Regions from separate parts of the Homo sapiens genome. Here regions 2, 3 and 4 are each linked to region 1. Evidence: promoter capture Hi-C in 16 types of primary human blood cells and fetal thymus (Javierre and others, 2016). All regions are on one chromosome and are shown on one strand. The core of a region is centred on a gene start or on the middle of the fragment in contact, and the rest is flanking DNA. Distances in the headings are between cores, read along the strand shown.

What was found. The method cuts DNA at HindIII sites, captures the fragments that hold promoters and counts their contacts. A CHiCAGO score of 5 or more calls a contact.
Region 2: a fragment that was not itself captured here is called in contact with the fragment with the promoter of C1orf122 in region 1 in 2 of 17 cell types (fetal thymus and neutrophils); the score reaches 10.1 in fetal thymus.
Region 3: the fragment with the promoter of RRAGC here is called in contact with the fragment with the promoter of C1orf122 in region 1 in 1 of 17 cell types (neutrophils); the score reaches 5.3 in neutrophils.
Region 4: a contact is called between a fragment that was not itself captured here and the fragment with the promoter of C1orf122 in region 1, in 1 of 17 cell types (neutrophils). The highest score is 6.3, in neutrophils.

Annotation. Positions count from the first base shown.
Region 1 is chr1:37,806,353-37,809,122 of GRCh38, reverse strand. It overlaps C1orf122 (chromosome 1 open reading frame 122), which reads right to left and starts at 1,333. Exons shown (of 3, transcript NM_198446.3): 1 at 684-1,333; 2 at 391-592; 3 at 1-145. The coding sequence starts at 718. The coding sequence ends at 50. YRDC (yrdC N6-threonylcarbamoyltransferase domain containing) reads left to right here and starts at 915. Exons shown (of 5, transcript NM_024640.4): 1 at 915-1,331; 2 at 1,908-2,022; 3 at 2,147-2,266. The coding sequence starts at 943. RefSeq lists silencers at 276-825, 1,006-1,265. The HindIII fragment of the contact is 6,155 bases long and covers 1-2,770 here.
Region 2 is chr1:38,875,480-38,878,249 of GRCh38, reverse strand. It overlaps GJA9 (gap junction protein alpha 9), which reads left to right. Exons shown (of 2, transcript NM_030772.5): 2 at 2,057-2,770. The coding sequence starts at 2,152. RRAGC-DT (RRAGC divergent transcript) reads right to left here. Exons shown (of 2, transcript NR_186075.1): 2 at 2,024-2,309. The region is part of intron 1 of GJA9-MYCBP (GJA9-MYCBP readthrough); the gene reads left to right. Among named protein-coding and RNA genes, the nearest start is that of MYCBP, 3.5 kb to the right of the region's middle. The HindIII fragment of the contact is 8,897 bases long and covers 1-2,770 here.
Region 3 is chr1:38,858,395-38,861,164 of GRCh38, reverse strand. It overlaps RRAGC (Ras related GTP binding C), which reads left to right and starts at 1,393. Exons shown (of 7, transcript NM_022157.4): 1 at 1,393-1,755. The coding sequence starts at 1,519. It overlaps RRAGC-DT (RRAGC divergent transcript), which reads right to left and starts at 1,272. Exons shown (of 2, transcript NR_186075.1): 1 at 926-1,272. RefSeq lists an enhancer at 1,174-1,468 and a silencer at 1,104-1,863. The HindIII fragment of the contact is 4,947 bases long and covers 1-2,770 here.
Region 4 is chr1:38,842,190-38,844,959 of GRCh38, reverse strand. The region is part of intron 6 of RRAGC (Ras related GTP binding C); the gene reads left to right. Among named protein-coding and RNA genes, the nearest start is that of RRAGC, 16 kb to the left of the region's middle. The HindIII fragment of the contact is 4,730 bases long and covers 1-2,770 here.

The sequences.
Region 1 (2,770 bases), core at 84-2,583:
CACCGGCCCTGGGGAGGGAGAGAAGTCAGGGTATTCTGCTCGGGGATGGTCAGGGCTCCGCAGCTCCATCGCCAGCATCCTTTGGAAAGCCGCCTCTGGCGGAGACAGCCGGCTGGGGGGGCGCTCCAGGTTTGGCTGAGACGTTCTAGTTGGAACAGAAAGGAAAAAAGTGAGGCTGGGAGGCAAGGCCTTGGATTAGGCCCCACAAGGATGTGGCCATTTGGCATTTGGATAGTATTAACTTTTTCGAAACCTCTCACCAGATCAAAGGAGGTTAGGGATAAAGCGGCGGAGACATACTTCCCCCCTCCAGGGTAAGCTAGGGCTTGGCCAGCCTAGCCAGTGGGCAGACCCCACCCCACCCCAGCCCAGCCCAGGGTGGGCACTAACCCCGCCACCAGCCGGCTCCGGGCGCCGGCGGCCCAGCTGCCGTAACATCTCCTCGCAGGCTGCGATGGTGTCCAGGAGCTGCCGCTGCCGCTGCTCCACCGCGTCCAGCAGCTGCTGGGCGCGCTCCTCCCGGGGCGGCTGTGGGGGTGGCCTCCCGCCGAGCCCCAGCCCCGCCTTCCCGCGGTCCACGCCGGCAGCCTCCCTGCCCGGGAGAGAGCGAGAGACAGACGGTCAGGGCCGGCGCTTGCGCGGGGCCAAGCCCCTTCCTCCCGCCCCGACGGGCCCCCTCTCACCCCCGTGACCAGTCTGAGCCCGGGCCCCATTCCATCTCCGCTTGCGCGGCCCGACCACCGCCCCCCTTTCGGCCGCCCCCCTCCCCAGCGCTGCGTTAGGGCTTCGCAAGGCTGCGCCCCGCCCCGTCCCCACCGGTCTCCTTCAATCCTCCTGGGGGTCGTGGTCCCTTTAAGCTGCCCGGCGCAGAGGCGGGGCCGAGTCTCCTGGACCGGAAGCTGGCTGGGAGCGTCACTTCCTCCCGGAAGCGGGCCTGGGCGGATGTCTCCGGCGCGTCGGTGCAGGGGGATGAGGGCCGCGGTGGCTGCCAGCGTGGGGTTGAGCGAGGGGCCTGCTGGCTCCCGGAGCGGTCGCCTCTTCCGCCCGCCGAGTCCCGCTCCGGCGGCCCCCGGCGCCCGGCTGTTGCGGCTCCCGGGGAGCGGGGCCGTGCAGGCCGCGAGCCCGGAGCGCGCCGGCTGGACCGAGGCGCTGCGGGCCGCCGTGGCCGAGCTGCGCGCCGGCGCCGTGGTGGCCGTCCCCACCGATACGCTGTACGGCCTGGCCTGCGCGGCGAGCTGCTCGGCGGCTCTGCGCGCTGTGTACCGCCTCAAGGGTCGCAGCGAGGCCAAGCCTCTGGCCGTATGCCTCGGCCGCGTGGCCGACGTCTACAGGTAAGGCCGCCCCGACCCGGCCCCGCTAGGGGCGGCACCGCGGGAGGGGTTTCCGGTGACAGGCTTGGGAGACTGAGGCGCAGAGAGCGGGAGGGGCTTGTCCAGGCTCACCAAGGAATCCGGAACTGGAAATATGTACCGAGGACTTAACGTGCCCCGGGCCCTGAACTACATGCTGCTGGGAAGCAGCAACACACGAGAAAGGCAGGGACCCTGTTCCCTTGGCGTATTTGTGCTAATTGGGGAGGCCCCCGGGAAAAAAGCAAACAAACACAGTAGCTTAATTTAATAGCGAATGCCTTGAAGAAAATAAAACGTGGAGCTTGATCCCACTATCATGATATCACAGCGGTGCAGCTGTTGTAGTCCCTGAGACCAGAGGCACATGGGCGTCAAGCCAGGGGTGCGCCTCTGGAGCCCTGCTTTCTGCTCAAGCTCTTAGGGAGGTGAAGCAGGGAGACAGGCGGCTCCCATTGTAAACTCGAAGGATTCCTTTTCTACGTCTGCCTAGAGTCTAGGAAAGGACCACCAGTGGCCCTTCAATTTTGAATGGATTTATTCTTCTGTGTTTCCCAGATACTGCCGTGTGAGAGTACCTGAGGGGCTCCTGAAAGACCTACTGCCAGGACCAGTGACCCTGGTGATGGAACGCTCGGAGGAGCTCAACAAGGACCTAAACCCTTTTACGCCTGTGAGTCAAGTTTTCTCTTGTGTCCCCAGACTCCAGGCCACTTGGCTTTCACTAGGATCCAGATAAGACTTACCCTCTTATCCCTTCCAACCTTTCTCATGATCCCTTTCCCCTTGCCTTACAGCTTGTAGGCATTCGGATTCCTGATCATGCTTTTATGCAAGACTTGGCTCAGATGTTTGAGGGTCCGCTTGCTCTCACTAGTGCCAACCTCAGCTCCCAGGCCAGTTCTCTGAATGTCGAGGTGAGTTTACCCAGTCCTTCCCCTGGAAATGTCACCAGCGCACATACTGTTTTCTGTGAATCAGTGGCATTGATAGTACACTGGGATGGCCAGGCATGAGAGTTCTTGGGCCAACAGTGGGAAGGTTGCCCAGCTGGCAGGGAGGTGGTGGGGGGCAATATAAATTAAAAAAATTTGAAAGATTTTATCTCAAAGTCTGAAAAGCCAGGGGGAGAATTGGTCTTTTCTTCAGTCTTTATAATAATAGGAAAGATTATAAGAACAATGTCTTCCTGTTTTTCTGGAGATAACAGTTTCTGGAGAACACAGTTAGGCTATAAATCTTCACGACAGTGCTGTAAAGAAAGATGAAGAAGGCCAAGGGCAGTGGCTCATGCCTGTGACCCCAGCACTTTGGGAGGCCCAAGCAGGTGGATCATGTGAGGTCAGGAGTTTGAGACCAGCCTGGCTAACATGGCAAAACTCCATCTCTAATAAAAAATACAAAGATTAGCCAGACATGGT
Region 2 (2,770 bases), core at 146-2,645, 1.1 Mb before region 1:
AAAATTAGCCAAGCGTGGTGGCACTTGCCTGTAGTCTCAGCTACTTGGCAGGCTCAGGCACGAGAATCACTTGAACCTGGGAAGTGGAGGTTGCAGTGGGCTGAGATCCTGCCACTGCACTCTAGTCTGGGCAACAGAGTGAGACTCTGTCTCCCCCCACCAAAAAAAAAGAAAAAAAGTATACTTTTTCATAGTAAAGTATAATAAGTACTTTATACATATTCATAAATATTACTGAGATGAATTTCTGAAAATGTTCACCAATTGCCAGGAAGAAACCAGAATTTATTTCAAATTTATTTCAATTTGGATTAAAAAAACTAATCTAAATTCCTATGACAGCCAGATCTGTTTCCTCTGGTTTCACTGAATGCCATATCTTACTGAATTATCAAATGAAGCATATTCGTTTTCCTATGTGTATAAATGAGATTTAAAAATCACTGACTTTTTGACCGGGCACGGTGGCTCATGCCTGTAATCCTGGCACTTTGGGAGGCTGAGGCGGGTGGATCACGAGGTCAGGAGATCGAGATCATCCTGGCCAACATGGTGAAACCCCGTGTCTACTAAAATACAAAAAATTATCCCGGGGGGTGTTGGCAGGCGCCTGTAATCCCAGCTACTCAGGAGGATGAGGCAGGGGAATCGCTTGAACCCAGGAGGCGGAGGTTGCAATGCGCCGAGATTGCGCCACTGCACTCCAGCCTGGCGACAGAGCAAGACTCTGTCCCAAAAGAAAGAAAGAAAGAAAAAAAAATCACTGACTTTTCAAGCCAGTAATGGCATGTTGGGGAAAAAGAAATTGACTTTGTTATAACTTTTATATCAAATAATCTTAATAAATAAGGTTAAGATCAGGTTACTAGTTTTAGAAACCTTTCCAAAAGTTCTGTTGAAAAACAACAATAGGCTGGGCATGGTGGCTCACGCCTGTAATCCCAGCACTTTGGGAGGCCGAGGTGGGCAGATCACCTGAGGTCAGGAGTTCGAGACCAGCCTGGCCAACATGGAGAAACATCATCTCTACTAAAAATACAAAATTATCCGGGCATGGTGGTGCATGCCTGTAATCACAGCTACTCAGGAGGCTGAGGCAGGAGAATCGCTTGAACCCAGGAGGTGGAGGTTGCGGTGAGCTGAGATCATGCCATTGCACTCCAGCCTGGGCTACAGAGTGAGACTCCGTCTCAAAAAAAAAAAAAAAAAGAATATAATTTTAGGCCATGCGCATTGGCTCATGCCTGTAATCCCAGCACTTTGGGAGGCCGAGGTGGCCAGATCATCTGAGGTCAAGGGTTTGATCTCAGCTCACTGCAACCTCTGCCTTCCAGGTTCAAGCGATTCTCTTGCCTCAGCCTCCCGAGTAGCTGGGACTACAAGCGCCTGCCACCACGCCTGGCTAATTTTTGTATTTTTAGTAGAGGCGGGGTTTTACCATGTTGGCCAGGCTGGTCTGGAACTCCTGACCTCAAATGATCCACCCACCTTGGCCTCCCAAAGTGTTGGGATTACAGGTGTGAGCCACCCCGCCCAGCCTATATTCTTAATAGAGAATATATACACTCCTCCTCCAGGTATCATGTTTTTTTCATTGTATTGTGATGTCTAAATATAAGTGATTTTAAATTCCTGACATTTAAGTATATTATTGGTAACAGATTCACACTTTGGCCAGGTGTGGTGACCCACACCTGTAATTCCCACACTTTGGGAGGTGAAGGCAAGAGGATCACTTGAGTCTAGGAGTTTAAGACTAGCTGCAGCAATAGAGTGAGACCCTGTCTCTACAAAAAAATAAAAAAAATTATCTGGGTGTAGTTGCACACACCTGCAGTCCCAGCTACTCAGGAGGCTGAGAGGGGAGATGATCGCTTGAGTCTGGGAGGTTGAGGCTGCAGGGAGTTGTGGTTGCAACACTGTACTCCAGCCTGGGCAACAGAGGGAGACTCTGTCTCAACAAACAAACAAACAAAGAAAAAACCCCACAGCTATCTAGGGAAAAAGTAAAGCAACCAGCATATAGAAGTGACATATTGTTATATTTTCACCATAGGTTTGCTTTAAGAAATAGTGCTCCCTTCAGAATGGAAGAATTTATCTGCCTCTTATTTGATGTGGATCAGAGCTAAGATGGCTGACTAAATAAACATGGGGGACTGGAATCTCCTTGGAGATACTCTGGAGGAAGTTCACATCCACTCCACCATGATTGGAAAGATCTGGCTCACCATCCTGTTCATATTTCGAATGCTTGTTCTGGGTGTAGCAGCTGAAGATGTCTGGAATGATGAGCAGTCTGGCTTCATCTGCAATACAGAACAACCAGGCTGCAGAAATGTATGCTACGACCAGGCCTTTCCTATCTCCCTCATTAGATACTGGGTTCTGCAGGTGATATTTGTGTCTTCACCATCCCTGGTCTACATGGGCCATGCATTGTACCGACTGAGAGTTCTTGAGGAAGAGAGGCAAAGGATGAAAGCTCAGTTAAGAGTAGAACTGGAGGAGGTAGAGTTTGAAATGCCTAGGGATCGGAGGAGATTGGAGCAAGAGCTTTGTCAGCTGGAGAAAAGGAAACTAAATAAAGCTCCACTCAGAGGAACCTTGCTTTGCACTTATGTGATACACATTTTCACTCGCTCTGTGGTTGAAGTTGGATTCATGATTGGACAGTACCTTTTATATGGATTTCACTTAGAGCCGCTATTTAAGTGCCATGGCCACCCGTGTCCAAATATAATCGACTGTTTTGTCTCAAGACCAACAG
Region 3 (2,770 bases), core at 144-2,643, 1.1 Mb before region 1:
TGACCTCATGATCCGCCCGCCTCTGCCTCCCAAAGTGCTGGGATTACAAGCGTGAGCCACCGCGCGGCCGGCTTTAACAATTTTTAAACAAAGGTTTACCACAGTGGAGTTGGCTGCCTTTCGAGATGGTGAGCTCTTTTACCTTCGAACTATTTAAGTGCATTCTGCATGTCTATTAGACACTATAGAGTTGGTTCGTTTTAGGTGAGAGGTTGGGCTAGATGACCTCTAAGGGTGTATCCTACCTCTAACTTCTGGGTTCAGACAAAACCAAAGTCCCAGACCTGCCCGCATGTGCGAATTTTTCCTTCATAATCAAGAAGTCAGTCTCCTTGGAGGGCTGGGAGCACCCCCACTCCTGTACTTTAAAAAGTGTATAGGGCTGTGCTTTAAGAGGATCCTCTTCTCAAACTTCCAGTTCTAGAGCCTGATTATCAAAAATAAAAATTCCTCTAGATTTCTCGGACATATTTGGTGACAAGCATTTGCTTTTGTTTGCTTTCATTATTCAATACTTTGGTCTCTAATCTGAACGAGGTCATAGAAGAGGCAGTGTTCTATGGGGGATGGAATTCCTAGAGTAGACTTTGACAAGGCGGGAAGGAGGGCAAATTGAGTCCCGTTGGGTTTGAAGTGGCAGCAGTATCCACTATCGGCGACTTACTGAAGAAAGAAGATAAGATGTTCTAGCTTGGCTGCATCTGCTTTCCCATCAGGGTCCAGCTACCTGCTAGAACAAACTATCACGGTGACCCATGACTCTGCCTTGGTTGAGGTTTGCCCTCAGTGTGGCTGGCTCCCCCATACCTTTGCACATCCCAATCTATCCATCCACCTAGATCTGCTCAGACGCTTTCTCATTCAACTCCCGAGCATTATTTATCCGTGACCTTCCCACATAATATTTCGTAGCGAGGTTACTTACGCAGAGGTCCGATCTCTCTGTTCATCTTCAAGCAACCTGAAGGCAGGCAGGGTCTGCGTCGGATCCAGTTCTGTGCCCCTTGGTAGGCACCCAGGACACTGCAGGCATCAATAAATATCGGTTGGGCAAGTACAGTTGCAGGATGAGGACAATCAATTCTTCCTCAAATGCCGGGAGAGCATCTCCATAGCGGTGCTCTGGGAGCCCGGAAGAAGGCAGGGGAGCGGTGCAGACAGCGTTGTATGCGGGCCGGGGCGGAGGGCTGAGGGCCCGAGCCGGGGCTAGAGGCGCGGCCGGGCCGCCCTCCTCGTGACTCCTCCTCCCCCCTCCGCGGCTCTGAGTCAGGTGATTCCGGCACGTGACGGGGCACCACCTACCCTGCTGCTCTCGAGTAGCAGCTCGGGCGGCCAATAAGCGGCTGGGCTTCGGCTCGGGGCCTATGAGAGCCGGGCTCCGGGGGGCGGGCCGGACTGTGGCGGCTGCCGGGGGCGGTGGCGGTGGTGGCGGCGGCGGCGGAGGCGGACTGGGGAGGCGGCGGCCTGGCTCGGCCTGGCCTGGCCTGTCAGGGCGCGGGCGGCGGCGGCTCCAGCACCATGTCCCTGCAGTACGGGGCGGAGGAGACGCCCCTCGCCGGCAGTTACGGCGCGGCCGATTCGTTTCCAAAGGACTTCGGCTACGGCGTGGAGGAGGAGGAAGAGGAGGCGGCGGCGGCGGGCGGAGGGGTTGGGGCAGGGGCAGGCGGTGGCTGTGGTCCGGGGGGCGCTGACAGCTCCAAGCCGAGGATTCTGCTCATGGGACTCCGGCGCAGCGGCAAGTCCTCCATCCAGAAGGTGAGCAGGGCTGCGCCCAGTCCCCCGCCCCCTCCCCGGTTCTCAGGTGGCCGGTAGCGGGGACGCCCGGGAGGGCGGCGGCCGGGGCCCGCCTGCGCTCCGTCCCTCCGCACTTTCTCTTCCACTCTTGCGAGCGCACAGGCGCGGCCCGCGCGGGGACCCCGACCTCTGTGTCCACGCCCAAGTCAGCTGAAGCCAAGTGGAGCGCTGAAGGCGAAACTGGTTGCCGGGAGGCAGGTGCCCGGTGGCACCGCCCAAGACCTCCGCCCCCTGGGACCCAGCTCCTGTGTCATTTACGAAACTGAGACGTACTCTCCAGTTCTCACTTGGAGAACTTCGTGGACTCCCTCCCCTGGCCCGTTTTGATTTGTTCTCACTTCAGGTGACCTGAGTGTTTCGGGATTCCCAGCAGAGCCCCAGGGAGCAGCGTCAGGAAGAGTTGTGACTAAGACACTGGGCGTTGTAATTCTCGCTACTGATGTGAAGGAGACTTCGCTGTAGCATTACTGGGAATTGGGTAGTGAGATTGCACCCATTTCAGTAGTTGTGGCCTGGTGAATGTAATTACTGGTGCTGTTCCCCCTGTAGGGGTGTGTTTTTAAAAATCTGAGACTTTGAGAATATTTTGCAGACCTAGTCTGTTTGTTTTCACTTTTGGGCCTTCATGAACAAATGGAGGGCTGTACACGTTTGTTTGTTTATGTTTTTGAGACGGAGTCTCTCGCTCTGTCGCCCAGGCTGGAGAATGCAGTGGTGCAATCTCGGCTCACTGCAACCTCCACCTCCCTGGTTCAAGTAATTCTCCCGCCTCAGCCTCCCGAATAGCTGGGATTACAGGCGCGCGCCACCACGCCCGGCTAATTATTGTATTTTTAGTAGAGACGGGGTTTCACCATGTTGGCCAGGGTCATCTCGAACTGCTGACCTCAAGTGATCATCCGCCTTGGCCTCCCAAAGTGCTGGGATTACAGGTGTGAGTCACCACGCTGGCCTACACTGTTTAGTGAGGGTTAAA
Region 4 (2,770 bases), core at 125-2,624, 1.0 Mb before region 1:
TAATAATCGCCATCCTAACTGGCATGAGCTGGTATCTCACTGTGGTTTTGATTTGGATTTCTCTAATGACCAGTGGTGATGAGCTTTTTTTCATATATTCGTTGGCTGCATAAATGTCTTCTTTTGAGAAGTGGCTGTTCATATCCTTTGCCCACTTTTTAATGGGGTTGTATTTTTCTTGTACATTTGTTTAAGTTCCTCGTAGATTCTGGATATTAGCCGTTTGTCAGATGGGTAGATTGTAAAAATATTCTCCCATTCTGTAGGTTGCCTGTTCACTCTGATGATAGAAACTAGACTTTTGGAAGTTACCAGGTTACCTCCTTCCTGCATTCAGTGGCCTTTTCTTACTCTGCAGGCTTTTCAATCTTCTAAGCATGTGATCTTGTCAGTCCCTCCTTTCTGAAAACTTTCTTCTCTCTTTGCTTCTCTGAAGCTGAATTCTTGGGATATTTTGTGTGTTTGTTTTCCCGACCACCTCTCCTGTTTCTTCTGTTTTTTTTTTTTTTTTCCTCAGTCCTGTTTGTCAGAGCCAAGTCTTTCTGCTTGCGTATTTTCTAGGTCAGCTCATCAAATACATGGCTTCAGTTAATCTTCTCTATGTGATTGAAAAATTCACATCTCCAGCTATGACTTGGGATCATGCTCTCGTCCCATGTTTGGAGCTATTAGTAAGACGTTCTCTCTTAAATATTGTGAATGTTACCTTCAACGTCATGTCAATCATTGGTTGATGAGTATTTCCCCTGTTTTGTGACTCTCGTGGCTGTCATACTTCTGTCACTAGTTACGCGAGTTTCTCCTGTCCAAGTGTAGATACCTTGTAGTTAGGTAATTGTGTGGTGTGATTGCTGAAGGGGCCCTTGCAGATTGGTTCACAGAGGAGATTTCGTGATCTCCTTTTTCTATTCTTCTATGTTGTTTATATTGAATTTTCACCAAATCTGATCATTTGTTTCTTGTAACTGTTACTTGGGTTTCCTTTCCATTTTCACTGTCAGTGATTCCACTCCAGGTTCTCATTGCTTCAGGCCAGTGGTGCTGCAGTAGTCTCTTACTTGATAATATTCATGTAGTTGACATATATGTGGAGGGTGTAGTATGTGTCATCTTTTATCCCAAAGGCAGATTAGTTTTCAGAAAATTTATTTTATATTATTTAACTACTCAAGGATCTACAGTAGCTCTGTTATTTACTGCAACAAGTCCTTCCTCTTCTACCTGAGTTTTTTTTTTTTTTTTGAGACAGTCTCGCTCTGTTGCCTAGGCTGGAGTGCAGTGGCGCAATCTCGGCTCACTGCAAGCTCCGCCTCCCGGGTTCACATCATTCTCCTGCCTCACCCTCCCGAGTAGCTGGGACTACACATGCCTGCCACCACGCCCGGCTACTTTTTTGTATTTTTAGTAGAGGCGGGGTTTCACTGCGTTAGCCAGGATGGTCTCAATCTCCTGACCTCGTGATCTGCCTGCCTCGGCCTCCCAAAGTGCTGGGATTGCAGGAGTGAGCCACTGCGCCCGGCCTGAATTTTTAATGGAATAGTTCAGATATACACAAATTTTTGGGTAAATCAAAACATGTATCTTCACCTTTCAGCTTAAGAACTAAAATGACAAATACAGTTAAAATCTTTTTTTTTTTTTAAGAGACAGAATCTTACTCCATTGCCCCAACATGATCATAATTCACTGTAGCCTCAAACTCGTGGGCTCAAGAGATCCTCCCACCTCAGCCTCCTGAGTAGCTGGGATTATAGGCTCATGCTACAGGATACTGGCTAATTTTAAAATATTTTGTAGAGATAGGATCTCTCTCTCTTGCCCAGACTGGTCTTGAACTCGTTGCCTCAAGCAGTCCTCTTCCTTCAGCCTTCCAAAGTGCCGGGATTATAGATGAGAGCCAACTGCCTGGCCAGCTGAAGTCTTCTGTGTGTTTTTCTCAATTGAAATCCCTTCCTTTGAGCTATGTGTATTTTATTTTTCTTATTTTTTCACTTCATGTCTATCCTTAAACAATAGAGTATTGTATAAATGATATAAAAATATAAGTAGTCTTCTGCAACTTGCTTGATTCTTTTCCTTCAGGTGGTTTTTGAGATTTATTCAGATTGATGACACGTAGTTCTAGTTCATTCCTTTTCGCTGCCATATAGTATTCTACAGGTTGACTATACCACATTTTATTTTCTTGTTGCTGGACATTTGGATTATTTTAAAAATTTCAAATCTGTAACAAATGCTCATGAACAAGTTTAAGTTTGCCTTTGCACGTGTGGAGAATTTCTCTAGGGTATGCCTTTAGGAGTGGAATTTATAGAGTACCTATATCTTTTGACTAATAAAGAGATTGCCAAACAGCTCTCCAAAGTGACTTTACTATTTTCATCCCTGGCTGGCACCGGTCTGTGGAAGTTCTTATCACTTCTTGTCCTTAATAATGCTTGGTATTGTTAGACTGTTTAATTATTGTCAATCTGGTAGGTGTGAAAGGGTATCTTATTTGATTCTCATTTTTACTTTTTAAATTACTGGTTAGAGCAAGTGTCTTTTCATGGCAAGTACCTTTTCATGGCTATTCAGGTTTCTTCTTTCACATTTTACCTGTTCCATATATATTTATCTTTTTTTGCACTGATTCTTAGCAGTTCCTTATTTTTCTCTATGTTAGTTTATTTGTTTATTTATTTTTTTGAGATAGAGTCTCGCTCTGTCACCCAGGCTGGAGTGCAGTGGTGCGATCTCGGCTCACTGCAAGCTCCGCCTCCCGGGTTCA